5 separate regions of the Homo sapiens genome follow, and all the other regions are linked to region 1. Evidence: promoter capture Hi-C in 16 types of primary human blood cells and fetal thymus (Javierre and others, 2016). All regions are on one chromosome and are shown on one strand. The core of a region is centred on a gene start or on the middle of the fragment in contact, and the rest is flanking DNA. Distances in the headings are between cores, read along the strand shown. Region 1 holds the start of SPOPL (speckle type BTB/POZ protein like). Region 2 has its middle 53 kb from the start of DARS1. Region 3 has its middle 260 kb from the start of CXCR4. Region 4 has its middle 64 kb from the start of CXCR4. Region 5 overlaps DARS1 (aspartyl-tRNA synthetase 1).

Region 1 (4,965 bases), core at 2,315-4,814:
CCAGCTACTCAGGAGGCTGAGACAGGATTGTTTAAGTCCAGGAGTTTGAAACTGTAGTGAGCCATCATCATGCCTATGAATAACCACTGCACTCCAGCCTGGGCAACAAAGGGAGATCCTGTCTGTTTAAAAAAAAAAAAGAAAAGAAAAGAAAAAGAAAAAGGAAAAAAAAAAAGTGGAAACCAGCTTACTAGCAAAGAGCTTGGTGGACTGCATTAAAACGTGTAGGGGCATTAGCAAAATCTCCAGCAGCAGCGAGCCCAAAAAGTACATCACCGAGGATTCATAAAGTATTGCATGCTTTTTAACAAGCATATTCCTTGCTTTTTTATCTCTACATGGAAGACAATAATGGATTTGTGAGTTTTGTATAGCTTCGTTTTGGACAACTAGAATTGGAAAATTATTGTATAAACCAGGTGGTGGTATGGAAGGCAGTGGTGAGTCCATCGTGCCTACACAGCCATGAAATGGGAGCATCTGTGGTGTTTAATTTAGAAGAGGAACAAGATGCTACAGTCACTAAAATATCAAAGTGGGAAGCTTGATTGGTTCTTCAGGCAGAGCCTCATAGGGTTGGGTCATGGAGATCCAGAGTCTGAGGCTCATCTGTTTATTAAATTCAGAATGGCTGTTTTGATCATCTTCACTAACTGCTGACATAATTATAGGAAGTAGAACTTCCAAGTTGGCCATATACACTGAGGAGTATAAATAGTTTCCTATAGAAAATCAACAATAAGTAGCAAAATAAATATGCAAAAGTTATATGCATGTTTTTTCAGTAGGCTTTTAGGCAGGACAAGTTGGGTGATCCTAATGGTTAATGACTTAAACGAAGCAAGCCCAATACTGACCTAGCAGAGGCAAACTGTGCTCTACACTAATGACAAAGCTGTTATTTCTCTATTTTAAAAATTTATTTACGGCAGCAATAAATGAAAGCCTATCATATCTCTCTAGTTTTCCAATAGGTATCCAGTAAGTAGGAAATCAAATTAAGAAGGTAGTTCTTTAGCAGACTGGTAACAAAGCATCAAGCTTTAGTAAGCTTTAATCCAAACTTACTGACCATAAAACCATCTTTTACTTTGCTAAGCCATCACAGTTTTGTTAGCATTACTTACAAGCCATATTCACTCTTACTATTTACTATCATTTTATTAGTGGGTAAAGTCATTGAATACTGCAAGCAAGAGAGGAATGGTGTGTCCTAACACTTAGGGTAAGGAGATCAAGCCTAGGGAAAAGACTCTCTGAGAATACCCTGAGGAGCAATTTGACATCCTTGTGGTGGAAGTTTATTGAATCAGTTCCCAACTTCAGCCCAGTCAACTGTGAAGGGTCAGCATCACTCTTAACTTCCAATTGGAAATGTACTTGATGGACTTATAACTTAATTCTATGAGTGTATTATATTTACTAGGTGTCTTATAATTTTTAATTATGGGAAGAGAGGGGGTGACATACTACGAAGGGATTGAAAGAGCTAAAAGGCTTAGTCAAAAATTACATGTAATTTTTGCTGTATGTCACATACCATAAAGTTAACACGGGTGGACAGTGAGTATAGCAAATCGTTTCAACTGTTCTTTGCTGGTGTTTGGAGATGGTTAAATGTTTACACAAATATTTCCTCTCTCCACCAACTCTTTCCCCATTCCCTAATGCTCACTTCCACTTCTGTTTTTTAACTTTTGGAGTTCCTTGATCTGCATAAACATTCTACCAACTCAGCCCAAGGCAACTTTGAATTTTATGGTTACATTGCTAATTTTATCTTTATCTGAAAACCTTTGGCACAGATTTTGTCTTAAAGCACGTTTTGTCTTAAATAAGTCAACAGGATTGCTAACGTAAGGTCAGGTGCTAATCCCAGCATTTTGGGAGGCAGAAGTGGGAGGATCACTTGAGGCCAGGAGTTTGAGCCCAGCCTGGGCAATATGGTGAGACTCTGTTTCTACTAAAAATACAAAAATTAGCCGGGCTCACGCCTGTAGTCCCAGATACTTGGTGGCTGAGGCACAGAATTGCTTGAATCTGGGAGGTGACCCAGGATCGCGCCACTGCACTCCAGCCTGGCGTACAAAGCGAGATCCTGTCTCAAACAAACAAAAAGAAAAAAGAAATAAAAAAGACAGCTAATGTAGTATTAATTTGAAATGAGGGGGATCTGCCTGTCCAGTATTCAAATCCCAGTAACCTCTGGATGAATTACTTGCCATTTCTAGTTCTTGTCGCTTAATTTTAAGATGGAAATTTCTACGTTGAAGTTTTAGAGAGGTTGTTGAGAGAACAGAGACGATACAAGTCCATGCTTAGAATACTCAGTACATAGCAAAATAATAAATATTTTCCCTCTGCCCTCTCTCTTTTCTTGGAAAGCCAGGTAAGCAATGAGAAGTTGGTTTATGGCCAGGTGTGGTGGTTCACGCCTGCAAATCCCAGCACTTTGGGAGACCAAGGTGGGAGGATCCCTTGAGCTCAGGAGTTCGAGATCTGCTTGGGCCACATAGCAAGACCTCGTCTCCACAAAAAATTAAGATTACCTGGGCGTGGCACATTCCTGTAGTCCCAGCTACGGGAGGCTGAGTTGGGAGGATCACTTTAGCCTAGGAGGTCGAGGCTGCAGTGAGCTGTGATGGCACCACTGCACTCCAGCCTGGGTGACAGCCCTGTCAAAAACAAAACAAAACAAAAATTGCTGACGTATGCACAGTTAAAGCAAAAAGAGTTGGGATCCTTGAATGACGTTCATGTCTGTTCTGGCAAAGCCGGGATTGTTGGTCCCCCAAACTTCTTTAAAGAAGTTTACTCCTGGTAGCTCGATTAAGTATCTTTGTCCCATGGCCGTGGGGAATAAAAAGTTCAGTTGTCACCCCCTTTTTAAACTAAATGTCCGAAGAGACAAGGCAATCCCATCCTCTCTTCACACATTTGTGCAGGTGCAGCTTTATTTCCCACCGTGCGGTCCCAGGAGGCCGCCTGGTCTTCTGCGCTCACTTCCTAGGCATCCCTGGCCGCCCCTCGGCAGCCTCTCCTTCTGGCCTGAGACTTCCAGCTGAGCCTCATCCCCTCCACCTGAAAACTGCTCCATGGGGCACTTCATCTACCTGGAAAGTTCTCGATTTCCAACTGGAGCCTGTATACTGCTGGTTGTGTCTCAGCAGTTATTACAGCTCTGGGCTTACAACGGGAGCTTAGCAAAAGTTCCACCCTGGCTTCCTAGACTGCTACAGCTCCAAGAAAAATCCTGTGCGCACAAACGGCCGCCGCCTTTGGCGTCTCCCGCGGATTAGACCAGTTAGGAGGTCTCAGTAGGCTTTTAGGCAGGACAAGTTTTACGCCTGGCCAAATAAGGGTCAGACTAAGCAAGGCGCCTCCGTGCGCCTAGCCAGAGCGGTGCCGGCTGCGGAACCTGCCCCGCCGGGAGCCTAGTGCCATGCAGCAGCGGCGGCGGTGGCGGCTTCCCAAGCGCGGCGGCAAATCCGGGCCCGCCCGGAAGTGCCCGGCGCTGTAGGAGGGAGCAAGGGCCCAGGAGCCGCCGCCGCCGCCGCCGCGCGCACGCGCCCTCGCGGGCTGGAGCCGGGGCTGGAGTCGTAACTCGGAAGCCGGAGCCCAGACGGGCCCGCGGCGGGGGGGTGGGGGCTGCGCGGGGGCGGGAGTGGCGGAGGTGGCCGCCCCTGGCGGCGGGTTTGTTTATCCCGGGGAAGAAGTTTAGGAGCGGGAGATAGGGAAGGAGGGCGGGTCGGGGAGGAGGGATGCGGTTCGGCGGAGGCGGCCGCCACAGGGACTTGCCGCCATCACCCCTGCTGCCACCACCGCAGCCTCGGGCTCCCAGGGCGGACACGGCCACCGCCTCAGCGGGAGAGGAGTCTCCACCAGGACTGACCGCTGCCGCCCAGCACGTCCAGGTAGGCGCCCCTTCCCCTCCCCCCAGTCCCCGCGGCAGCCCCAGGCGCTTGCTCCCCTCCCCCGGCTCTCCGTAGACCGGCGGCCTCCTGCTCGCGCCTCACTGCGCCCTCTGCTCTCTGGGTCCCGGACCCCTGCTCGGGCGGCGAGCTCCGGCCTGCTCTGGGGACTACCTCCCACGCCCCCGGACCGCCCTTCCCTCGCGCGGCGGCACCACTTTCCCCGGGGTTGCCCCCAATCCCTCCTTGATTTCCCAGCCTCCACCTTCCAGGATCCCCTTTAGTTTTACCCCCGGGCCTCGCCCCTTCTTTTCCTCTGGCTTCTCTCCTCCTCTATACCTGTATACCTCCACACCTGCCCCTTTTTACCTGAGTGCTGCCCAAAGGCAGAAACTGCATGCTCTGCCACCGCGCAGCGTCCACTTTCATACCTCCTCATCCCAAATACAGACACTTGAAACTCTCGTCCCTGTTAGCCCATTTTAGGCAGAGTTCTCAGCTTCGCAGACCGCTCACTACCTCCAGTCCGGTGGTCATGCCTTTAACCTCTCTTTAACCTGCTTTCTAATACATTTTTGCTCACTTATACCAGAGTACATCAAGCTAACCGCGCGGTTCGGGGTCCAAGTCTTCAAAGAGCCCACTTGTATTCCTGCTGCTCTCCTTTTTCCTAATTCTTTTTGAGTCAATGTATTTGTATATTGATTCAACATAAAAGAAAAGGGAAGGTAGCATTTTCTCTCTCAAAGCAGTCACACAACCCAGTAGAAATAAGATTCACCATCTGCTTATCCTAACTTTCGCTTGTCTCTTTCCTGACTGAACTCTGTCATTCAGTGATTCTTTCCAGGCTTCTGATGCTTTGTCTATTTTTGAATAATCTTGGGCCTAGTTTGACCCATTGTGGTACTCACTTTCCCACTTGCAATTGAATCCACTGTTTCTTGGACTAGAAACTGACAGAGGTAAAAGGTTCATACCTTGAAAAATTACATCTCTCCTGCCACGATGAGATTGGTGGAATATTTCAAATTACCATTTCATCATTCTTGTG
Region 2 (5,514 bases), core at 1,117-3,616, 2.5 Mb before region 1:
CCTCTCAATGGGTGATTATTTCAAAGATGTCAAGAAAGAAAAGCCAACTCATAAAAGAGGGAAACAAAGAAGCCGGTTCATTGGAGAAAAGTTATTTATGTGACCTGTTAAAATGGAAACCTTTGGAAGCATTGCTTTGTTTAATATATTCACCTAACTTGGGCTTTATAAAACATTAATCTTCCTCTCTTCCTTTCAATGTAGTGAAATAAGCTTAAAATGTGATTAAGCTAATGATATCTAGAGGTGACAGGCTGAGGCACGTTAATTCCTGAGTAAAGTACCCTTTGGTTGAGAAACTCATAACTAAACTGGCCATCAACAGATCGCCAGGGAAAGCCTGCAAAGGTGAGAGTACTTAAGGCTTCTAAGAAAGTAAATAAAGGTCCACATGCCCAGAATCTAAAACGTAGTCACGCAAAATGAACCTCATGATATTCAGATGGTGTATAAAAGAATGGGTTCTGTTTGCTCGTTTGCCTTTTTTAGAGCCCTAAAAGTCCACACTTGTTTTAAGCAGCTGCAAAATAAGTAAATAGATTTTTGAGAGCAAAATTAAGATTTGGTTGAAACATCTTTCTCATCAAATAGCATGTTTAGGCCCCAGATGCTCTATGAAGCACTCATAAATAATGTGATTTCTGTCTCTAGAAGCTGACATTTGCAAGAAGATGCCTGGTAAAAGTGTAGATATAAAATACGTATTTGTAGAAATACAATATGCTGTCTTTTGTATAAGAAGATAATGTTAAATGACCTATCATCATTTATTTTGAGCCTCTTTTCTGTCTACATACTCTTACCCAGCTACCCTCATAACAAAACACACATTTACCAAAGGAATAATTCATGGAACAAAACAAAATGAGATAAGGTGCTGAGTTAGTTTTTCACTATACTTTTAGCATTTCGGTGGTCTGTGATAAACAATGGAACTAACCAGTAAAATAAGCTTAGATTGAAAAATGCCTTAATCTGCCTCCATGCAAAAGAAATATTCGTATTATATAAAATTCAATTTTCTTGAATATTTGCATTATATGTATTTTAAAATTGCTTTCTTGAAGTATAAATGACATGCAATAAAGTGCATATATTTAGGTGTACAATTTGATAAATTTCAACACATGTATACACCCATGAAACCACTGCTGCAATCAAGATAAAGGACATATGCATTACAGCCCTGCACTGTCTTGTTCCCCTTTCTAATCCCTGCCTCCTACCCTACGCATCCCCTCCTCCTCCCAACAATCTCTAGGCATTCACTGTTGATTAGTTTGCATTCCCTAGAATTTTATATGAAAGTAACCATACAACATGCATTCTTGTTTTGTCTGGCTTTTTTTTCACTCAGGAATTATTTTGAGACACGCCCAGATTGTAGCATTCGTTAACAGTTCATTCCTCATTATTGCTGAGTAGTATTCCATTGTATGGACATATCACAATTGTTTGTCCGTATACCCATTGAAGGACATTTGGTTGTTTCCAGTTTTTGGCTATTATAATAAAACTGCATGACCATTTACGGCTAAGTCTTTATATAGATATATGCTTTTATTTCTCCAGGTAAATACATAGGATTAGAATGGCTAGATCACGGGGTAGGTTTATGTCTAACTTTTTTTTTCTTTTTTCTTTTTTTTTTTTGAGACACAGTCTCTCTCTGTTACCCAGGCTGGAGTACAGTGGTGCAATCTTGGTTTACTGCAACCTCTGTCTTCAGGGTTCAAGGGACTCTTGTGCCTCAGTCTCCTGAGTAGCTGGGATTACAGGTGTATGATACCACACCCAGCTCATTTTTGTATTTTTAGTAGAGTTGGGGCTTCTCCATGTTGGCCAGGCTGGTCTTGAACTCCTGGCCTCAAATGATTCAAGTGTCTTGGCCTCCCAAAGTGCTGGTATTACAGGCATGAGCCACCGCGCCTGGCATGTCTAACTTTTTAAGATACCATGAAACGGTTTTCCAAGCTGGTTGTACTATTTTACATTCTCATTAGCAGGGTATCAGAGGTCCGGTTTTAAGCATCTTTACTAATATTTGGTATGATTTGTCTTTTTATTTTTATTTTTTGTGAGTTATTGGTATAATTTTTTTTTCTTTTTCAACTTTTATTTTAGATTTAGGTAGTATACATGCACGTTTGTTACCTGGGTATATTGCATGATGCTGAGGTTTGGAGTCTGAATGATCCCGTCACTCAGACACTGAGCATGGTACCCAACATTTAGTTTTTCAACCCTTGCCCCTCTCTCTCCTGGCTCTGGTAGTCCCCAGTGTCTATTGTTGTCATCTTCGTGTTCATGAGTACTTGATGTTTGGCTCTCACTTATAAGCGAACGTGTGGTATTTGGTTTTCTGTTTCTGTGTTAATTTGCTTAGGATAAGGGCCTCCAATTGCATCCATCTTGTTGCGAAGGACATGATCTCATTCTTTTCAATTTGTCTTTTTAGAAGTGTGTTGTTTAATCTCCAAATATTTTGGGATTTTCAACCATCTTTCTATTATGGATTTCTAGTTTAATTCCATTGTGGTCTGAGAACATACTTTGTATGATTTCTATTCTTTTAAATTTGCTTAGGCACATCTTATGGCCCAGAATGTGGTCTGTATTGAATGTTCCATGTGAATTTGGGAAGAATGAGTACTCTGCTGTTGTTGGATGCAGTACTCTGTAAGTGTTAATTAGATACAGTTGATTGATGGTACTATTCAGTTCAACTACAATATGTCCTTACTGGTTTTTCTGCCTGCTGGATCTATCAATTACTGAAAGAAGGGTGTTAAAGTTTCCAATTATAATATTTGTCTATTTCTCCTTGCAGTGCTATCAGTTTTTACCTCATGTATTTTGATGCTGTGTTGTTAGGTATATACCTTTAAGCATTGTTACATCTTCTTGGAGAATTAGCCCCTTTATCATTACACAGTGTCCTTCTTCGTTGCTGAAAACTTTCCTTGTTCTAAATTCTGGCTTGTCTGAAATTAGTACAGTTACTCCAGCTTTATTTTGGTTTGTGTTAGCATGGTATATCTTTTTCCATCCCATTTATCTTCCCTTCCCTTTCTGCTTTCTCTGTTATTAATTGATCATCTTATATGATTCCATCCTCTCTTCTCTCTAAACATGTCAATATACTTTCTTTAAAAGGGCCCTGGGCACTGCCTGGGTCCCTCTCTATGTGCTGCAGCATGGAAATTCTCTCCAAGTGGTAAGCTGAGGTTGTTGTCAGACTCACCTTGGCACTATTGATATTTGGGGACAGATAATTCTTTGTTATAGGGGGCTGAAGTGCATTGTAGGGTGCTTAGCACCATCCTTGGTCTCTACCCACTAATAGTAGCATCCTCAGTTGTGACAATCGAGAATATCCCCAGATGTTGTGAAGTATTCTCTGGGGGCCAAAATTATGCCCAGTTGAGAACTACTGATTTCGAGATTTGAACACAGACTCTTCAACCTGACACGCCTCCCTAATATGTTCCTGTCTAACCTTTCCCAGTCTCATCACCTAGACTTTTGCTCATTCCATTCTCTAGCCAAAAAACTACTTGCTGTTCTCCTATCATGCCTTAAACACCAGTGTCCCTGTGCCCCTTTTGTGCTGTTCTCTCTGCCCAAAATGTCCTCTCCCATCTCTCTGTCAAAATTCTCCCCACTTTAAAGACCCACCAAAAATACCAAATTTTCTACAAAGCCCTTTTGATTTTCTAAGCTGATATGATTTTCCTCTACTAGTTTATTTGTCTCACACCCCTATCCACCTTAGTAATGGTAAGCTTCTTAATGCATATTTTCCCTTCTGCACACGTATTGTGGCTTTTGCACACATGGTACTGCCCTTCACTGCACATAACAGGTGCTCAATATATATTAACTGAATTTTTAGTTTTTACATATTGAGGTTCCTTTTAAAATATAAATCTGCTACCATTCAATAATAAAAGACAACCCAATTTAAAATGGGCAAAGGATCTGAATAGATATTTCTCCAAAGAAGATCTACAAATAGTCAATAAGCACATAAAAAAGATGTTCAACATAATTAGTTATTAGGGAAATGCAAATCAAAACCACCATGAGATACCACTGCACATCCACTAGGATGGCTATAATAAAAAAGACAGTTAATATCAAGTGTTGGCAAGTATGTGGAGAAATTAGAATTCTCATACACTTCTGGCAGGAACATAAATGCTTTGGTAAATTCTTTGGTAGACAGTCTGGCAGTTTCTCAAATGGTGAAATATAGTTACTATATGTTGTAGCAATTCCACTCCTAACTATAGACAGACCCAAGAGAAATGAAATTTGTGTCCACACAAAAACTTGCATACAAATATTCATAGCAGCATTATTCATAATATTCACAAAATGAAAACAATGCAAATCCATCAACTGATTAAGGAATACATAAAAGGTGATATATTCATACAATGGCATGTTATTAGCCAACAAAAAGAAATAGGTACTGATATCTGCTACAATGTGAATGAACCTTGAAAGTATTATGCTAAGTGAGTGGAACCAGTCACAAAGGGTCACAAATTGTAGAATTTCATTTTATTGAAATGCCTAGAGTAGGCAAATCTATAGACATGGAAATCAGATTTGTGGTTGCCTAAAACTTGAAGGATGGGAAGACTATGGGAGGGTGGCTGTGGGGTATGGTATTTCTTTTTGGGAGTAATGAGTGTTCTAAAACTGATCATGGTGATGGATGCACAATTCTGTGAATATACTAAAAGCCATTGAATTGTCTACTTTAAATGGGTGAGTTGTGTGGCATGTGAATAATATCTCAATAAAGCTCTTTTTACAAGGCATATCTTTTAATTAAGATTCCAAAGAGAAATATGTAATATTTAACATATGATCAATATATAAAAAAAGTTGATAAAAAACAAAAATCCCTTTCTATGAGAAAACAATTGGACAGCAAAGCCAGTTCTCTTGGCAAGAAGAAAATTGCTGAAGCTTTCACAAATCTGCCTGTAGAGTAACAGATGAATTCTACTAGGATGGGTTTTTGCTATTTTTGCTAAGACAACCTTTTTGGCACATCGTTATTAAGCTTTGACTCATTACCATTTGTGACAACACTGATAAAGGTCCCACCTAAGAACACTCCTTTACTCTATTTCATACTGTGTTATTAGAATATGTATCCAAGCCTTGTCTTTGCAAATAGCCAGAATAGCCATTACTTCCTGCATTCATAACGTGATCATCCTGAGCTAAATAAGGTGGATTCTCACACAGAGAACAAGTACTTGAGGCAAACTAATTAAAAGACAGACTTGAAGATCAGACCTGATATAGTCCCCTCTGTTTTCCAGACAGGCACTCCTGAATATAAATACATACCCCTTCCGATACATTGTTATCTGTTAGATGTCTTTGTGCAAACTAGAGTAGATTTATGTTTTGTTTCATGGGTGGAGACACTCAGAGAAATAGGAACAATGTTTTGGGGAATTCTAAACCGATTTTTAAAATCATGCCTGT
Region 3 (4,877 bases), core at 2,145-4,644, 2.1 Mb before region 1:
GCTCTGCCACCTCCTTTCCAAAATTTTAAAATCAGTAGGTGGAAGGTGATATGGCATCTGTACTTTAAAAACCAAAATAAGACCGTGGGTGATTCTGTTGATCAGCTGAGCGTGGAAACAACTGGTCTAGTGAACAGTAGATGAAGAAAAGGGTCTTACAAAATTTAGGGGTTCTGTCTATAAGGCCAAGAAAAATGGAAGCAATTATTCAGATAATCTCAGCACAAAACCACAGTTTCATTGGAATTGCGGGAATCATGAGTATCAGTTTCTGAGATACTTGGGTGGAAAGTATGTGGGTGGAGCCCAAATCTTATGTATTTAAATTCAGATCAAGCCTGTAGTAAAGATGACAGCGGTGGGAGATTGAGCAGAGAGGGGAGAATGGCATTTTCTGAATTCTCATTGTGCCACCATACATTCTGGATGTGTTGGGAGCCCCTTCATTTCACAGATGCTTATTGCTAGTAAGTACTATTGTAGCTCACAAACCATGAGTCGCCACGTTTGACATGGGAAAATGATGCTTGCTATTTATTTATAATACAACGTGTTTTGACTAACCATCAGAGAATATATTTTGAGGCAACTTTCCACTTTGCTTAGGATATAACATTTTTAATGCATCTTTCAATGGATATCTATTTTTAGGTCACCATTAGTTGCCTTGTAACTGAGATGGCCACATATTCACAGATATTTGGGGAGGCCCACAGATTTATTATTCTGCCTCATTGTCTTGTTGGTACCATATGACCAGTTAGCCTCTTGTTTCCTCATTTGAGTGTGGGAAACGGCTCTGTCTTTAGACACTAAATGGCATGCATGTAATCTTGTTTAGGGTCATTGTTCCCGGGTCTGAGTTTACTAGATGGAGAATTTCTTCAATGCCAGGTTTCCCAGGAGGAAAATGAGCCTATTTTGGTTGCATCAAATGCATCAGTTCACTGCTCTGGGTATCATCTGAAGAGCAAGAGGAGTCTGGGGGCCAGTATTGCATTTCATGTGAATGCTGGCTGAGTACTGCCATCTTGTGGCTGGGCAAACCCTAAAGCCTACCAGGGACCTTGGAGCAACCTTACAAAAAGAAACCAGACATCAAGAACCCATGTTCTCTACCTGCATGGAAGAAAAAAATTGACCATGAATCCCTAACAACAGTGCCATCCCTCCTTTCCTAGCTCTTGAATAAGTAACTGCTCTCTTATTAAGACAGAGTCCTGTCTGTTTCTTTAAAGAGAATACATCCATTCTTCTTCTGGTTTTAGTAATTTTTGGACCAGCCTTTAGATAATCTTTTGAGCCAAGTTTTGAGAAGTTTGGAGAGGGAAGGCCTTAAAAATATGTATAGTATCCAAGGCCAGAAAAAGAGGCAGAAATTGGAGACAGGTGACTCCTGCCTCTGGGGCAGTGGCTTTCTAAGTGAGGTGTGCCAGCAGCATCAGCATCACCTGGAAACTTGTTAAAATGCACATTCTTGGCTCCCAGCTAGACCTGCTGAGTCAGAAACTCTGGAGGTGAAGCCCAGAAATATGTGTTTTAAGATGATTCGGATGCACATTCAAGTTAGAGAACCCCTGTCTTGGGGAATAGAAGCCAACCCCAGGCAAATGTGAAGCGAAGACATCCAAGGTCCATTCTGTGCTCCATTATACTCATTGCTGTTCTGTTCCCTTTTCCTGTGTTAGGAACTCAGTAAGCCATACATATTTATTGTGTGAATACTATTGGTAAGCCACTGTATGGCATGACATGGGGGTTGGTCTGAGTAAGGGACTGGGAATTTGCGTTTCTAACAGTTTCTCAGGTGATGCTGCTGCTGCTGCTCCAGGGACTGTGTTTTGGGAACCCAGTGTTAGAGATAAGAGCAGCAGGCCCAGAAGCCCATGTGGTTTTCAGATGGAGAGTGCAGTTCAGGCTTTTTGGGGAATCCATGTGGCTACGAGCCTGCTTCTCAACACTCCCTGCCTCTCAACCCTGCCTGCCTCCTACCAAGGGCACAGGGAGACATGTTTATTTGAAGTGAACTCTAGTCCATTATAAAGAGATTAAAATAACATGCTGTGATTTTACCACCCAAAGGTTAGGCAATTCAAAAGCCAGAGCAAGCATGTGATGATTAAAAAGCATGGCAGAAAATTGTCAATAGCTTTGGAGATTTCATCCATACATTAAAAGACCTGTTTCGTGTTCTATTGGATCAATATGGCTCCAACGCTAGCACATTCACCTCTTGTTTAATTTGCCATTTAAAAATTTTGGTTAGTCCAATGACTCTAAACAATTCCAATGCAAAGAATAAATAAGCAGAACAGCAAATCAAACTGGATTTGTGGGCACAATTATATAGTAAGAACTCCAGAGCTGGAAGTAGAACTCTAATCACAGATTAGAATACAAATGTTTGCTTGTACATCGTACGCAGGCTCTACTATCTGCTGAATATAAATGGCTCCCTGATCGAACCTCTAGCCTGCATCGGGTGGGAAGGTAAGAGCTGGGTTTTGCTTTGCAAAATCTTAAGTCTCACCAAGAGAATCAGGGAGGCAGCCAATTGTAGTGGCAAATACGCAAAGCTTTGGAGTCAGGAAGTTATTTATTCTCTGGCTCTCGTTTTTATTATGTATTTAGTTTTTTGAGACAGGGTCTCGCTTTGTCACCCAGGCTAGAGTGAGTGGTGCGATCACAGCTCACTGCAGCCTTGACTTTCCGGGCTCCAGTAATCCTCCCACCTCAGCCTCCCAAGTTGCTGGGACAAAGATGCACACCACCACGCCTGGCTAATTTTCATATTTTTTTGGTAAAAATGAGGTTTTGCCATGTTTCCCAGGCTGGTCTCGAACTCCTGGCCTCAAGTGATCCACCTGCCTCGGCCCCCCAAAGTGCTGGGATTACAGGCGTGAGCCACTGTGCCCAGCCTGGATCTCATTTTTTAAAACCTGTAAATCTGGGACAATGCAACCTACTGCATGGAGTGGTTTTAGGGGTCAAGTAAAAATGGCCGGCAAGGCACAGAGTAGATGCTTGATATATAGCAGCTTTTCTTTCTTTCTTTCTTTTTTGAGATGGAGTTTCGTTCTTGTTGCCCAGATTGGAGTGCAATGGCATGATCTTGGCTCACCACAACCTCTGCTTCTCAGGTTCAAGCGATTCTCCTGCCTCAGCCTCCTGAATAGCTGGGATTACAGGCATGCGCCACCATGCCTAGCTAATTTTTGCATTTTTAGTAGAGACAGGGTTTCTCCATGTTGGTCAGGCTGGTCTCAAACTCCCGACATCAAGTAATCCCCTCCCACCTTGGCCTCCCAAAGTGCTGGGATTACAGGTTTGAGCTATCATGTCTGGCCCCCTATAGCAGCTATTCTTAAGTCTCCAGCTTCAGAGGGCTGGGGCCAGGAGAGGTTAAGAGGTGAACATCCATATTTACAGCCTTCATGTTTGGGGCCTTCTTCTCCCTCCTAAGGTTTTTCTGTGTTAAAATGCAAGTACATGTGCCCCTGGTGGAGAAACTCCCCGGGCTATAAAATTTTTACTACAGAATTGACAGAAATGGTCCCTGTAGATTTGGCTGAAATAAGATGTGCTTGAATTGTAAAGGGATGCCCCATATTTGGGGTAGGTGCTGTGCTAGTCACAGTCAATGTGCTTGTCAGGTGCATCCCCCTAGAAAACCAGCTGAGTTTGGTGTGAAGATAATTGGGAGGAGGAGAGTTTGGGTTCAGGGAGGAAAGGCCTGGTGGGGGCCTGCAGTGGATGGGAGAGCAAGAAAGAAGGGGCGTGGAGAAAAGTAGGGAGGCAGGTGTGGGGGTGCTAGAGGTTGTTACTTCCTGAAGTTGGGTCCCTCTGGGTGGAATGCCTTTCAGTGACCAGGGGCCACCTGTCCCACCATGTGACTCCATTGCTCAAGGAGCGTCCAGTGGAATAAGTGAGAATCTGAAGCAGAGAAAAATCATCCAGCAGCCATGTGATGAGTATGTAGGGGAGAGTTGAGGCTATGTGGTCAGCTTCGGTCCCGAGTTAGAATCAGATCTGTGACTTCAAGCAGAGTGACCCTGAGCTGGTTATCCAACTAATTCGTGACTTAGGCCTTCTGATAAACTGGGCTTCATAATATACTCATCTCACAGGGCTGGTGTGAGGATCGGCAGGGGTCATGTGAGGAAGCACTTAGCAGAGTCTAGCAAGCACTTAAATAGCAACTAGCGTCATGACAAAGCTTTATGCTCTGGATGCCCTTGACGGGGCTTTTAGCTGTGTGACCTTCAAGAAGTCACCTGCTCTTTCTGAGACTCAGTTGCTTCAGCCCTTTAAAAACAGAAACAAACACAGCCGACCACAGGGTGTGTATGGATCTGAATGAGTACAGACAAAGTCACTCATTGCAGGACTGAGTAGGAGGCAGGGTGCTGGGATTGGTGGGTTTAGGGAGGTCTGGGAGGGCCCTGAAGCTCAAGAGAAGTTTGTTTGGAAAGAAAAGCATCTTCCGTTTTGACTGAGAGGAAATGGGGAGGGGATGTGGTGCAGCGTCAAAGGCAGGGTCTGCTGACGAAACTTGGTGGTGGTGTTTCTCAAACAGAAATAGGACATTCTCACTCTCCGTGACACTCAAACTCCAAAGTTTCGGCCTGGGTGGTGGTTGCACCTGTCACTGACGACCTCACTTGACTTTGAGTTAAGCTGCCCAGGCAGCCAGAGCAACTGTGCCCTGGAAGGCGGCCCTGCCATCAGACAGACATGTTTTTCATATATTCCTGATTTTCATGTAGTAGTTCACTGGACATTTACTGCACACCTACTATATGCTAGGTGCAAGGGATTCAGCAGTGAATAAAACAGTTGCAGGTCTTGCTCTCAAAGACCTTTCAGTCCTGCAGGAG
Region 4 (5,552 bases), core at 2,784-5,283, 2.4 Mb before region 1:
TAAGACAGTTTTCCACTGTGGCAGGTACTGTTGATTAACTCTATAGTCATTTCAAACACCCTTTTCCTGTCTACTTCTCAGTATAGAATAGAGGCTGGTAAATGACATATGACTTCTCTCAGCCTGTCTTGCAATTAGGTGGCTCATGTGACCTAAGGGGCTGTTTGCTGGAGGGTTTCTGGGAAGAGTTATTTTCCTAAATAAAGTGATAGAGACATGGGAAAACAGCCTGTTCCCTGCCTTCACCTTCCTGCCTTGAAAGCAACTGTGGGGGAAAGATGCTTGGAACTGGGATGACCACTTTATCTTGTGTAAACACATGTGAGGATGAAAAGTCAACTCTCTGAGGATGGGGAGCCTTGAGACAGCAAGAGCCTGGGCCCTTGAGCACCATTGCTGGGCCATTGCACCAATCTCAGAATTGCTTACCCATGCCCTTCTTATTACATGAAGTGATTCCATGTCTCTAGCTCTTAAACAGAGTCAGGTTTTCTCTTTCTTGCAGCCAAAGTCACATCTTAAGTGATTGTAACCACTACAAAGTGATACTCTCTAAAGTCACTTTGTTCTAAGACTCTCACAGTATGTACTGAACCAATTTTTTTTCCTGGTATTATATCATTATAGGTGAGTTTCATTTCCTTTCCTGTGTTCTCTAGTAGAGGTGGTAATGAGCAGTGAAATAACAAAGAAGTTGAGAATAGGAGAAAAAAAAAGTAAGGAATGAAGACTTCAAAATAACTCCCATTTAGGTACTTAGAAGTTAATCATGAGTGGAATACACAGAGGGAGCTGGGCTTGGCTTGACGGGGTGATCTCCACTTTCCTTCTCTATTCCCAGAAGACTTAGGAGGCTCCGTGAGAGGGAGAATGAGATAAGAATTTTAGCAACTTACTCTCTCCACCCTGTGAAAGAACTTCTGCCTTGGCAACACCCCTCCCCAAATAATTTTCACATAGTCCAGATGAGTGCCTTCCCATACACAGGATGAAAGATCCAGGGAAAAAAGTCATATCGGGACAATGGAGAAAAAAAATTGGCTTTGCCTCTGCATTGTGTGTCTAATCCTGGTTCTGATAGCCCTTTACAAAGTTCCAAAAAGTGAAAAGCAACCGTGGAAACACCTGTTGGAAACCGTTTTTGAGCTGTCCACGTTGGTACTGGCTGGTTTCCTCTGGGAGGCTGAGTGCTCAAAGCATCAAGAAGGCCAGAACAGAGAACAGAATTTGTACTCCATCATCTGTGAAGGCTTTACTCTATTTCAGTAGCTGTGAATAAAGGGGCTTTCCGTAAACATACGTTATGACCATAGATATCAGGTTGACTAATACAATTCATGGCTCTGGCGCTCTTCCTATAATCCACCTGACTCGAATACTCAGGGTGTGCCTTTTGGTGAGTTCATATGTTTGAGCAGTCAAAGCTTTATAGTCCTCACCAAAAAATATGTTTTTGACTTAATAGTTTTTAGATAAAAAATTTTCACAATGGATGAAGTAGTCTAAGACATTGATAAAACAAAATTATGTTAAAAAGTTCTCGACCTTCCTGCTCTTTTATGTTTTTCTCGCTAATCTCACACCTTGCTAATCTCTCACACCTCCTTTACAGAGGTGTAAATTATCTTCTTTTGGGTGCATGTACATCAATTGACACATTTATTTAAATTTAAACTCAGAGAAAAAATGCACTAGCTTTTGAGTTTAGAGTCAATGTGAGACCTCAGGTCCAGAGAGGTGAGCGGCAGTGGAAGAGGTGATAAAAGACTGATTCTGTGCTACTTTTATCACCTCTCTGGGCTTGAGCTCCTAATCTGTGAAGGGAGGCAACTATCCTAAAATTATCTTTAGGATGATTCATTACAGCTGTAACATGCAATGATTCTATTAAGAGTCTACTGAATAAGGCTAAAGCTATTCATTATTTTTTTTCTAAGAAGTTTTTTAAACTCTTAAAATGATTTCAAAGGAACAAATCCCTTGTAACTTGTAACTTCAAAAAGATTTTGAGTAATTGCTTTTTCATCACAATGTTTTCTTTAGGCAATGTACTTCTTGAACAACCTCTTGCTATATTCCTTTGGTGCTTGGTTTCTCTTTTAAAATAGTGATGCCTGCGACTGCCTATAATAGAGCAGCCATTTTTAGTTACTACTGAGGCCAAGCCTTTCTTTGTTGAAAATAGTTTTATTTTTTATTTTTATTTTTTGAAACGGAGTCTCACTCTGTCGCCCAGGCTGGAGTACAGTGTCGAGATCTCAGCTCATTGCAAACTCTGCCTCCCGGGTTCAAGCAATTCTCCTGCCTTGGCCTCCTGAGTAGCTGGGATTACAGGCACATACCATCATGCCTGGCTAATTTTTGTACAGTTAGTAGAGACAGAGTTTGGCCATGTTGCCAGGCTGGTCTCAAACTCCTGACTTCAGGTGATCCACCCACCTTGGCTTCCCAAAGTGCTGGGATTATAGGCATGAGCCACTGTGCCCAGCCCCCTGAAAATGGTTTTAAATGCATATTTCAGTGTGTAGATTATAGTGAAGCCTGAGGATTTGTTTAAAATATAAACATGATGCAAAAATTGATTTTAGATTTCGCCAGCATATTGTTGTTAATTGGTAGAAGCATTAGAATTGTATGATAATATGTTTACAAAGTTCATGTCAACTTTTATGGGAAAGCTGTGCATTCTTTTGTAGAAGACCTTATGAACCTCAAGCTTGTAAGTAATAGCTATCTTTTGTAAATAAGTTCTAGCTGTGTGCTAAGTACTTTATGACACCTGAGAGAAACTCAACTCATGATGATGACAGGGATGGTGAAAGTTGCTACATTAATTGAGTGCCTACTGTGTGCCAACAAGTGATTATATCCAGCATTATTTCTAACTGTTTCAATGTTAATATGAAGAAAGCATTATTAGCTTCATTTAACAGATAAAGAAATTGAGACTACTGAGACTCAGCAACGCTGGGGAGTAACACTGGCATTTGAACTCAGGTCTGCCAGACCTCTTCCACCATGCTAGGCTGAAAGGCTTTTCTGCTGATGGCTTTTGCAAAAATCATTCATGTACACTAGGAGGCCTAGGTGTGCAAAGCTATAAGATAAGCCATCTGAATGAAAGCTCCATTTTAGTAAAAAAGAAAACACTAGAAGAAGGGGGACATGAATAATAATAGCAAACACTTGTAAAGTCCCCCTTTGTATGAGATACTGCTCTAAGTGCTTTGTGACTACGAACACATTTAAAGTTGATGACAACTTTATGGGATAGGTGCTTTCATGGTTACCCTGGGCTTCCAGATTAAGAAACAGAGACAAAGAGAGGTTATGCAGCTTGCTCAAGGTCACCCAGCTAGTAAGTGGTAGAGCTGGGATTTGATCTCAGTAAATTTGGCTCCAGAGTCCATGTTATTAACCCCCTCACTCTGCTACCTTTGTCTTATGCTTAATTCCTATTATCAGGTAGGAATCTAATGGCAGGTCCTGCTGAGCCACCTGTAAACCAGCACAAGAAGGCATTTGAAGATCCCTTACATGTCCATATTATTTCTTGCTTGGAGTGGAAGGAAGGAGTATTGCCCCGCCTGTGGCTGGAAGAAGGCTGAGTAGCCATACAGTTCCAAAGCAACACCGTCTTCCTCTTCTGGGTGGGTTGGGTAGGGCACCATGATGATAACCTCTCTTTCTACATCCAGTCCCCTCCACATGCTCCCCTCCATAGCCTTAAAACAGGAAATAACCAGCACCCCAGTGATTTTTGTGGTGGTGGTTACTAGGTATACATAAGTATAAGATATTATCTCTAACCTTTAGGCGTTCATTGGCCAGTCACTGAAAGAAAGGAAAAAAAGAAAAAGAAAAAAGGAAAGAAAGGAAGAGAAAAATAGAAGGAAAGAAAGAAAGGAGAGAAGGAAAGAAGAAAGGAAGAAAGGGAGAAAAGAAGAAAAGAAGAAAGAAAGGCCAGGCACAGTGGTTCATGCCTATAATCTCAACACTTTGGGAGGCTGAAGTGGGAAGATCACTTGAGTCCAGGAGTTCGAGACCAGCTGAGGCAACATAGGAAGATCACAGAGTCTCTATAAAAAATATTTAAAAATTAGCTGGGTATGGTGGCACACATAGTAGTCCCAGCTACTTGGGAGGCTGAGGCAAGAGGATTGCTTAAGCCTAGGAGGTCAAGGCTGCAGTAAGCCATGATTGTACCACTGCATTCCAGCCTGAGTGACAGAGTACAACCCCATCTCAAAAAAAAAAAAAAAAGAAAAAAAAAAAATAGAAGAAGAAGGAAGGAAATGAAATAATTACACAGCATTAAGGCCAATGTGATGAAGAACCAATGTGGGCTATAATTGCCCAGGAGGGCTTCCCTGGAGATGTGGGGTTAATCTGAGCCATGAAGAATGATTATGGGTTGGCCAGGCCAGTTGGGGAGGGAAGGATGGCCAGAGGTAGAATGAAAGGGAGAGGACAGAGAGGCGCCATGGCTGAAGGGACACCATCCTTCCTTCCTCTCCCGCTGCATCCATATGACTTGTGTCCTGCTGCTGCTGAGTGCCAGTGGGTAAATACCTTCTCTAGAGCCCCAGCCCCTCCTTCGGCTCAAAAAGGTGAGTAACTAACATACTTCTTTGTGAAAAATGGGCGATCTAGACCTTATGAAACATTAATTTTCTAGTGTGTTCTCTATGAAGAAATGAAAACTCTGTATTTGAAGAAAGTCAAGGAAGTAGCTACAATACAGCCAAGCATTAACACAATGCCTGGATGGTTAGAAGTCTCAGGCTATTTAAAGACCCAGTAATTAACATAGTGCAATAACATAAAATAGGAAGGGCTACAGTTTACTCTGCACACAAGAACTCTTGGCAGCCACATGATTCCTTCACAAAAATACAATGACCAGTAAGTTCTGCAGATGAGTTTTCTCATCTATAAAATGGGTATAGTAACTGTATCCACCTCACTAGGTTGTTGTAAAGATTAAATGAGTTAATATACACAAAGTGCTTAGACCAACCCCTGCTGACTTATACACTGAGAAATGTTCTTAGGACAAGATGCTAGTTAGCTACAGAAGTGACACAGACCACATGTGAAGTGTGTGTTGTAAGTGGTAAATTTCAGAAATGGGTCCCAGAGGGGCAGATTCTTTTCCGAGGCATAACGGGTGATATGTAGGAGAAGACATGCTAAAGCTCCATTTCTTTTCGGTTGTAAAATGAGTCACCTTTTCTAAGAAGTGTTACATAAACCAGGTTTGGTTCATTTGAGCACGGTGTGGTATATAAGAAATAGAATTTGCTTTATTTTAAACCGTTTTTTTTTAACCAATTGGTAGTTGTTTAACAAAGCTTTTTAATATTTGATGTGAAGCAAAAACCAATGAAAGTCTATAAAAAATAATCCCAATATGATGACTCAGTAGCTCTCATTCTATTTGAAAGTGATCTGCACTTGGCAGGGGGTGGTGGGGGGAATGAAATCAGAAGGATTACAAGGGAGCTTCAATTAGATCTGTAACATCTTATTTTTTAAAATAAAAGAGAGCA
Region 5 (5,536 bases), core at 1,280-3,779, 2.5 Mb before region 1:
ATGCTATTATCATGGGACATATTAAATACTACAGAAGCAAAGAACTCTGCTAAAGAGACGGAGATGTCTTAGAAAGCTTCTAGCTTCTGTTTATACTCCACCAATTACTATGAGACTTTGGGCAAGTAGCTTCATTCTGAACGTGTTTCCTCATTTATAAAGTGGAATAGGAATGCTTGTTCTGCCTACTTCACAAACTTGCAGGGATGATCAAATGTGAAAAAGTATGAAAAGTATAAAGTTATAAACTAGTGTGTCAATTGATATTTTTAGACAATTCTGAACACTACAGTAGGCCAATTTTCTATAAGAACAGGGTCTGTCTAAATGATCCTAACGTTTCTTCTCTGTTGTTGAGGCTAAATTTTTAGCACTGTCTGAAAGAACTTTCTATGATGAGAATATTCTGTATTTGTGCTGTCTGTCCAAAATGGGAGCCGTTAGCCACATGTGGTCATTAAGCTCTTGAAATACAGCTAGTGTGACGGAATTACTGAATTTAAATGTAAATAGCTGCATGTGGTCAGTGGTTACTGTATTGAATTGCCCAGTCTTATCTTTTGTTCACTTCTCTCCTCATCTAGATAATTACAAATATAAAAATATTAACAAACGGGAAGTTTCTCAAAAACACTCTTCACTTAAATAATTAAAGTTTACTCTTTTTTTTCAATTTTTTTTTTTTTTTAGCTACTCCTTCTCCAGCTGAAAATAATTAAACTTTAGAGCGATGCTAGAAAAGTAGCTTGAAGTCTTAGATTTCATCAGTCTTTAGGGTCAAATTATTTGTAAGGATGTTTTACAGGAATCTAAAATTGATTAACCATGGGTTAATACTTTACAGTGACTTTTAAGAAAGAAAAGTTACATGTTTTTGTTTTGTTTTTAAAGATTTACTTTGGTCTGTGAGGAATATGTAAGACAAAAAATTCGGAGTCCTTACCGAAAGAGCTTTAATAATGAAACCAATCCTACCTTTAGCTCTGCTTGTATGAACTCTTGCACGTACCCAAACAACTTCATCAGCTTTTTGTATTGTCAAGTCTCTAACCCGAACCAAAACTCGATCTGTAATAACAGTAAACGATTTTTATATAGTAAAATAATTTTTAAATTCAGAATTTACAAAGAGATCATAATTATTTTTGACAGCTAGCATAAGTACTTGGAACCATCCTGAATAATTCTCAATCTTTGACAACACTGTCTTCTCTATCATGTTCCATGTGCAATTTGCCTCAAGTTTTGTGAACTGTGCTTTCTAAACATATTTTTAAAATCCGTCTATTTCTCTACCATCTTCACTGCCGCCATACTAAACCAAGCTATTGTCTCCCACCTGAACTACAGCAATAGCTTCCTAACTGCAATCCCTGTGTCCCCTTCTAATTCAGTCTCCTTTGAAGTCAGACAGTTTCAAAATGCAAATCTGAACACTTCAATGACTTGTAAGGCCAAACACAGCCTATCCTGCCTAGGACATGGAACTTTTGCCTGCCTGCCACAGTACCTAAGTCAGCTAGTCTCTACCAAGTCTGAACAGTCGCAGTATCCTATTCCCCAGGATGCAGTGACTCTAACTGAGCTAATGCAAGTCTTTCTCTGGGACTAAATATACAGATGCTGGGAATGAAGCTCTCTTTCCTGGGATTGCTGCGCTGACATGGTGCAGGCCCAGGGCTGCAGCTTTCACCTTTCCTGCTATGTTTGCAGGATTCGAGAAGGAGGCCAATATCCTAAAGGAAACAGAGCCAAAAGCTGGAGAGAGAAAGGCCTGTAGATGCTTCCTGAGCCCCAAGATCCAATCATGCTTGATGTCATCTCATACATTTCCCTATCGAGCCTTTTGGCTGTAAGTGAGCCCCAACTATTATGCTCCTAATACTAAACAAAATACTACATTCATCTAGAGTTCCTAAACAGGAAAACAGCTACAAAACAACTGTTATGTAAAGATGTGTATACAACGCAACATTCAACAATCATTTTTGCTACTCTTCTAAATGCAATCATTTGATTAGAGAAAAACATTTAAGTATTAGTTAAATTAAACATAGCAATAGACATGACATTACAATATCGAGAATACCTTTTGAGACATAAAGTCAAATTATAAATACTGTATGTCTTACCGAATTTTTCTAAATGTATTTATAATTTGCCTATTGAAGAAAAGATGCAGCTGCAGAGAGAATCTGATTTACAGGAGAATAAATAACACGGTTCTCATAGCCAAAAGCAAAGAGAATGAAAGAGGAATTTTAAAGCCACTGGCATCACAAGAGGATTTCTGCAAAACACTGCCAACAGACTTTATGAGTTAAGCCAACTTCCAAGTCTGCTGTGTAAACTCAGGCAAAAGAAAGCGTGAAAGAGAAAAGACAGACACATCAGCAGAAGATTTTAAAAGGCAGATTTGAAAATGCCAAGACTGAAAAAGCAATGGCTAACCAAGCAATCACAACTCAAAACCACACAAAACAGAAAAGCAGAAGTCTAAGAGATATGCGATAATTAGGATAATTTTACTAGCACTTTGGAGAAGAAAAAGGGTAATGGCTCTTCTTTCTTGTGGCATGGCAATTAACTAGCATAGGGGTTCTCAACCTTTAATACACCCGAACATACCCGAAGCCCATGCCATACTCACATCACTATGACTGGCTAACCAGTAACAACCAAGGTAGTAGGATTTCAGTTTGAAAACTGCACTTTTAAGAGTCATGGGCATCAGAGTGATTAATGCAGAGAAATGGAAGCAGATGAGAAAGGAAACCACCTTGAGCAAAGAATTGGCATTTTTGCAGAGGTAAAACCAAAGGCCGAATTTTACATACATAGGTTATCTTTCTCTCTAAGTGGAAGAACGCAACTGTCTGTGGATTTGCCAGCAAAAGAACAACAGCAATTATGTTAATGGCTGCTTTGGGCCTATGTTAAAGACCTAAACTCCAGTGAGCTTCTTTGTGTTACAGCTCAAGGAAGTACAGTTGAGAAAGACACCTAACCTGAAAACAAAGTCTCAAGTGTCTCCTCCTGCTTGCCCTGGCAGAGGAATATCATCCCCTATACTCTATTGCTCATAGTCTATTTTACATAGGTTGAGCATTCCTAACCCGAAAACCCGGAATGCTCCCAAATCCAAAACTTTTTGAGTGCTGACATGATGGTCAAAGGAGATGCTCATCGGAGGATTTTGGATTTTCAGATTAGGGATGCTCAAGTGGTAAATATAATGCAAATATTCCAAAGTCCAAAAAAATAAAGTCCAAAACACTTTTGTGGTCTCAAGCATTTTGGCTAAGGGATACTCAACCTGTACTCAATTACTTTATTTCATCTTTATGTTTTGGAAATGATTTTCAGAAATTTTGGCTTTTTTTTTTTTTTGACAGGGTCTCACTCTGTTGCCCAGGCTGAAGTCCAGTGGTGTGATCGTGGCTCACCGCAGCCTTGACCTCACAGGCTCAAGTGATCCTCCCATCAGCCTCCTGAGTAGCTGGGATAAAAGGTGTATGCCACCACGCCTAGCTAATTTTTTTACTTTCTGTAGAGATGGGGTCTCACTATGTTTCCCAGGCTAGTTTCAAATTCCTGGGCTCAAGTGATCCTCCCAACTCAGTCTCTGAATTTTGGTCTTTTATTGTATTCTTTCCCAACAAGCCTGGGAAAGAAAAGTGATTTTGTGATCATGTGGCAAATCAAATATAACAATAAAATTAACCTAGAGGTGTTTTATTTCCAAAGCATAATATTCATAGGCAGCCCTCTAAACTGGAAGCAGTGCTTCCAATGGGCAAGAATGTAAACGTCTACAATTACTGCACCAAAGAGTGAGAGACGTAATTTGAAGTGTCTACCAAAAGAAAAATTACTGTCAAATAGTTAAGTAAGACAAATCTGTTGAAATTACATATATAGAATAGAAGTAAAAGAAAGGCAAACATTTATAAATAAAAAATCTACAGGTCTGAGAGAAACAACATGAGTCAGGTCAATTTCAAAGAAATATAAGGCCGGGTGCGGTGGCTCACACCTGTAATCCTAGCACTTTGGGAGGCCGAGGTGGGTGGATTGCCTTGAGTTCAGGAGTTCGAGATCAGCCTGGGCAACACAGTGAAACCCCATCTCTACTAAAATACAAAAAAAAAGTGAGGCGTGGCGGTGTGCGCCTGTAGTCCCAGCTGCTCAGGAGGCTGAGGCAGGAGAATTGTAGGAACTTGGGAGGCGGAAGTTGAAGTGAGCCGAGATCATGCCACTGCACTCCAGCCTGGGCGACAGAGCGAGCCTCTGTCTCCCAAAAAAAAAAAAAAGAAATATAAAGATGCCAACATACACTAACAAAAAAGAGCGGTTATAAGAAAAGATAGACTGGGGTCTAAGAATAATTCATTTCATTCCCAGACACTAAAGCTACGAGTAAACAAAATGGAGTGGGGGTGGAGGCTTTAAAACTCAAATCATAGTACTGCCAAAGAAGCCAGAGAAGATGTAAGATGGAAGGACCCATGGACTCTAGGGTCAGATGGCCTTTGGTTCTAATCCCAAGTCTGGCAGACTCTGTGTAAGTCAAGTTTCTTATCTTTCAACTTTGGTTCCTTAGTTTTCAAGGATGCTGTAGAGAATAAGTGAAAATATAAATGTTTGGGAAGAGTCAAGCAAAATAGGAATAAATAATAGCTAAAAACAGTCAGAGAAGTAAAGTTGTGGGGGTTGGGGGAAGTAAAAGAGGTAGCTTTATTAAAGCATGCAAAAAGGCTACATGTGATGAAGGCAGTTATTAGCCACTCTCCTATCTCCTAGACAACGGTTGAATCTTACCTAATAATTTAGGAATATTTAAAAAATATAATCTACCATTTAAAACATACCATTTAACCTACAATACCTAATAACATTTTTTTTCCTTTTCTAGAGTTGGAACCCTAAACTGACAATGTTTACACAGGGTTATGACATCTACTTGGATTATTAATGTCATTTAAGCTTTTCAGAATTATACCTTCAGATTTATGCCAACCTTACTTAAAATTTCATTTAGAGCTTTCCTGGAATTAGAAAGCAAAAAAGCTTTATTTACTGTCACATAGCTACTAACCTGGTTTTTCTTGTGATTGTATCATTGAAGATATTCCATATCTCTCTTTAGCATAATCCTACAAAAAAAGTTTTTTGCATCGTGACTTTTTATGTAAACACTAAGAGCACAGTAAACACATAAATACTAATAATAGAATATAAAAATGAATTTAACTTTCAGGATCATTTTATTAATTCAGAAAGTCAGTAGTTTCATAATGTGGAAATCTCTCATTCATTTACATATGTACTCTACAGAAAACAGAAAAGTACTGTTTCTGGTTAGTTTGTTTTGAAGATCACCACTCCTAGATGGATTTACCATACTTAATAACATTCTCAGATAAAATTTACACATATGTACAACACATCTTAACTACCTTCTTCAAAAAGATGAAACTACTTCAAAGCAGGGACATAAATTTCCTCTGTGAAGGGAGTAGGATGAAGTACCACA

Evidence for each region. Contacts are between HindIII fragments. The CHiCAGO score rates a contact against its expected background, and 5 or more counts as called.
Region 2: a contact is called between a fragment that was not itself captured here and the fragment with the promoter of SPOPL in region 1, in 1 of 17 cell types (neutrophils). The highest score is 8.9, in neutrophils.
Region 3: a fragment that was not itself captured here is called in contact with the fragment with the promoter of SPOPL in region 1 in 1 of 17 cell types (naive B cells); the score reaches 5.7 in naive B cells.
Region 4: a fragment that was not itself captured here is called in contact with the fragment with the promoter of SPOPL in region 1 in 2 of 17 cell types (neutrophils and total B cells); the score reaches 6.4 in neutrophils.
Region 5: a contact is called between a fragment that was not itself captured here and the fragment with the promoter of SPOPL in region 1, in 1 of 17 cell types (fetal thymus). The highest score is 5.1, in fetal thymus.

Annotation. Positions count from the first base shown.
Region 1 is chr2:138,498,206-138,503,170 of GRCh38, forward strand. It overlaps SPOPL (speckle type BTB/POZ protein like), which reads left to right and starts at 3,565. Exons shown (of 11, transcript NM_001001664.3): 1 at 3,565-3,914. SPOPL-DT (SPOPL divergent transcript) reads right to left here and starts at 3,490. Exons shown (of 2, transcript NR_187149.1): 1 at 3,114-3,490; 2 at 1-2,675. RefSeq lists silencers at 3,461-4,000, 4,201-4,250. The HindIII fragment of the contact is 5,215 bases long and covers 1,050-4,965 here.
Region 2 is chr2:136,035,742-136,041,255 of GRCh38, forward strand. No RefSeq gene overlaps it. Among named protein-coding and RNA genes, the nearest start is that of DARS1, 53 kb to the left of the region's middle. The HindIII fragment of the contact is 2,833 bases long and covers 951-3,783 here.
Region 3 is chr2:136,377,926-136,382,802 of GRCh38, forward strand. No RefSeq gene overlaps it. Among named protein-coding and RNA genes, the nearest start is that of CXCR4, 260 kb to the left of the region's middle. The HindIII fragment of the contact is 1,640 bases long and covers 2,575-4,214 here.
Region 4 is chr2:136,051,327-136,056,878 of GRCh38, forward strand. No RefSeq gene overlaps it. Among named protein-coding and RNA genes, the nearest start is that of CXCR4, 64 kb to the right of the region's middle. The HindIII fragment of the contact is 2,638 bases long and covers 2,715-5,352 here.
Region 5 is chr2:135,978,299-135,983,834 of GRCh38, forward strand. It overlaps DARS1 (aspartyl-tRNA synthetase 1), which reads right to left. Exons shown (of 16, transcript NM_001349.4): 2 at 5,099-5,156; 3 at 976-1,068. Among named protein-coding and RNA genes, the nearest start is that of DARS1-AS1, 4.1 kb to the right of the region's middle. The HindIII fragment of the contact is 4,910 bases long and covers 75-4,984 here.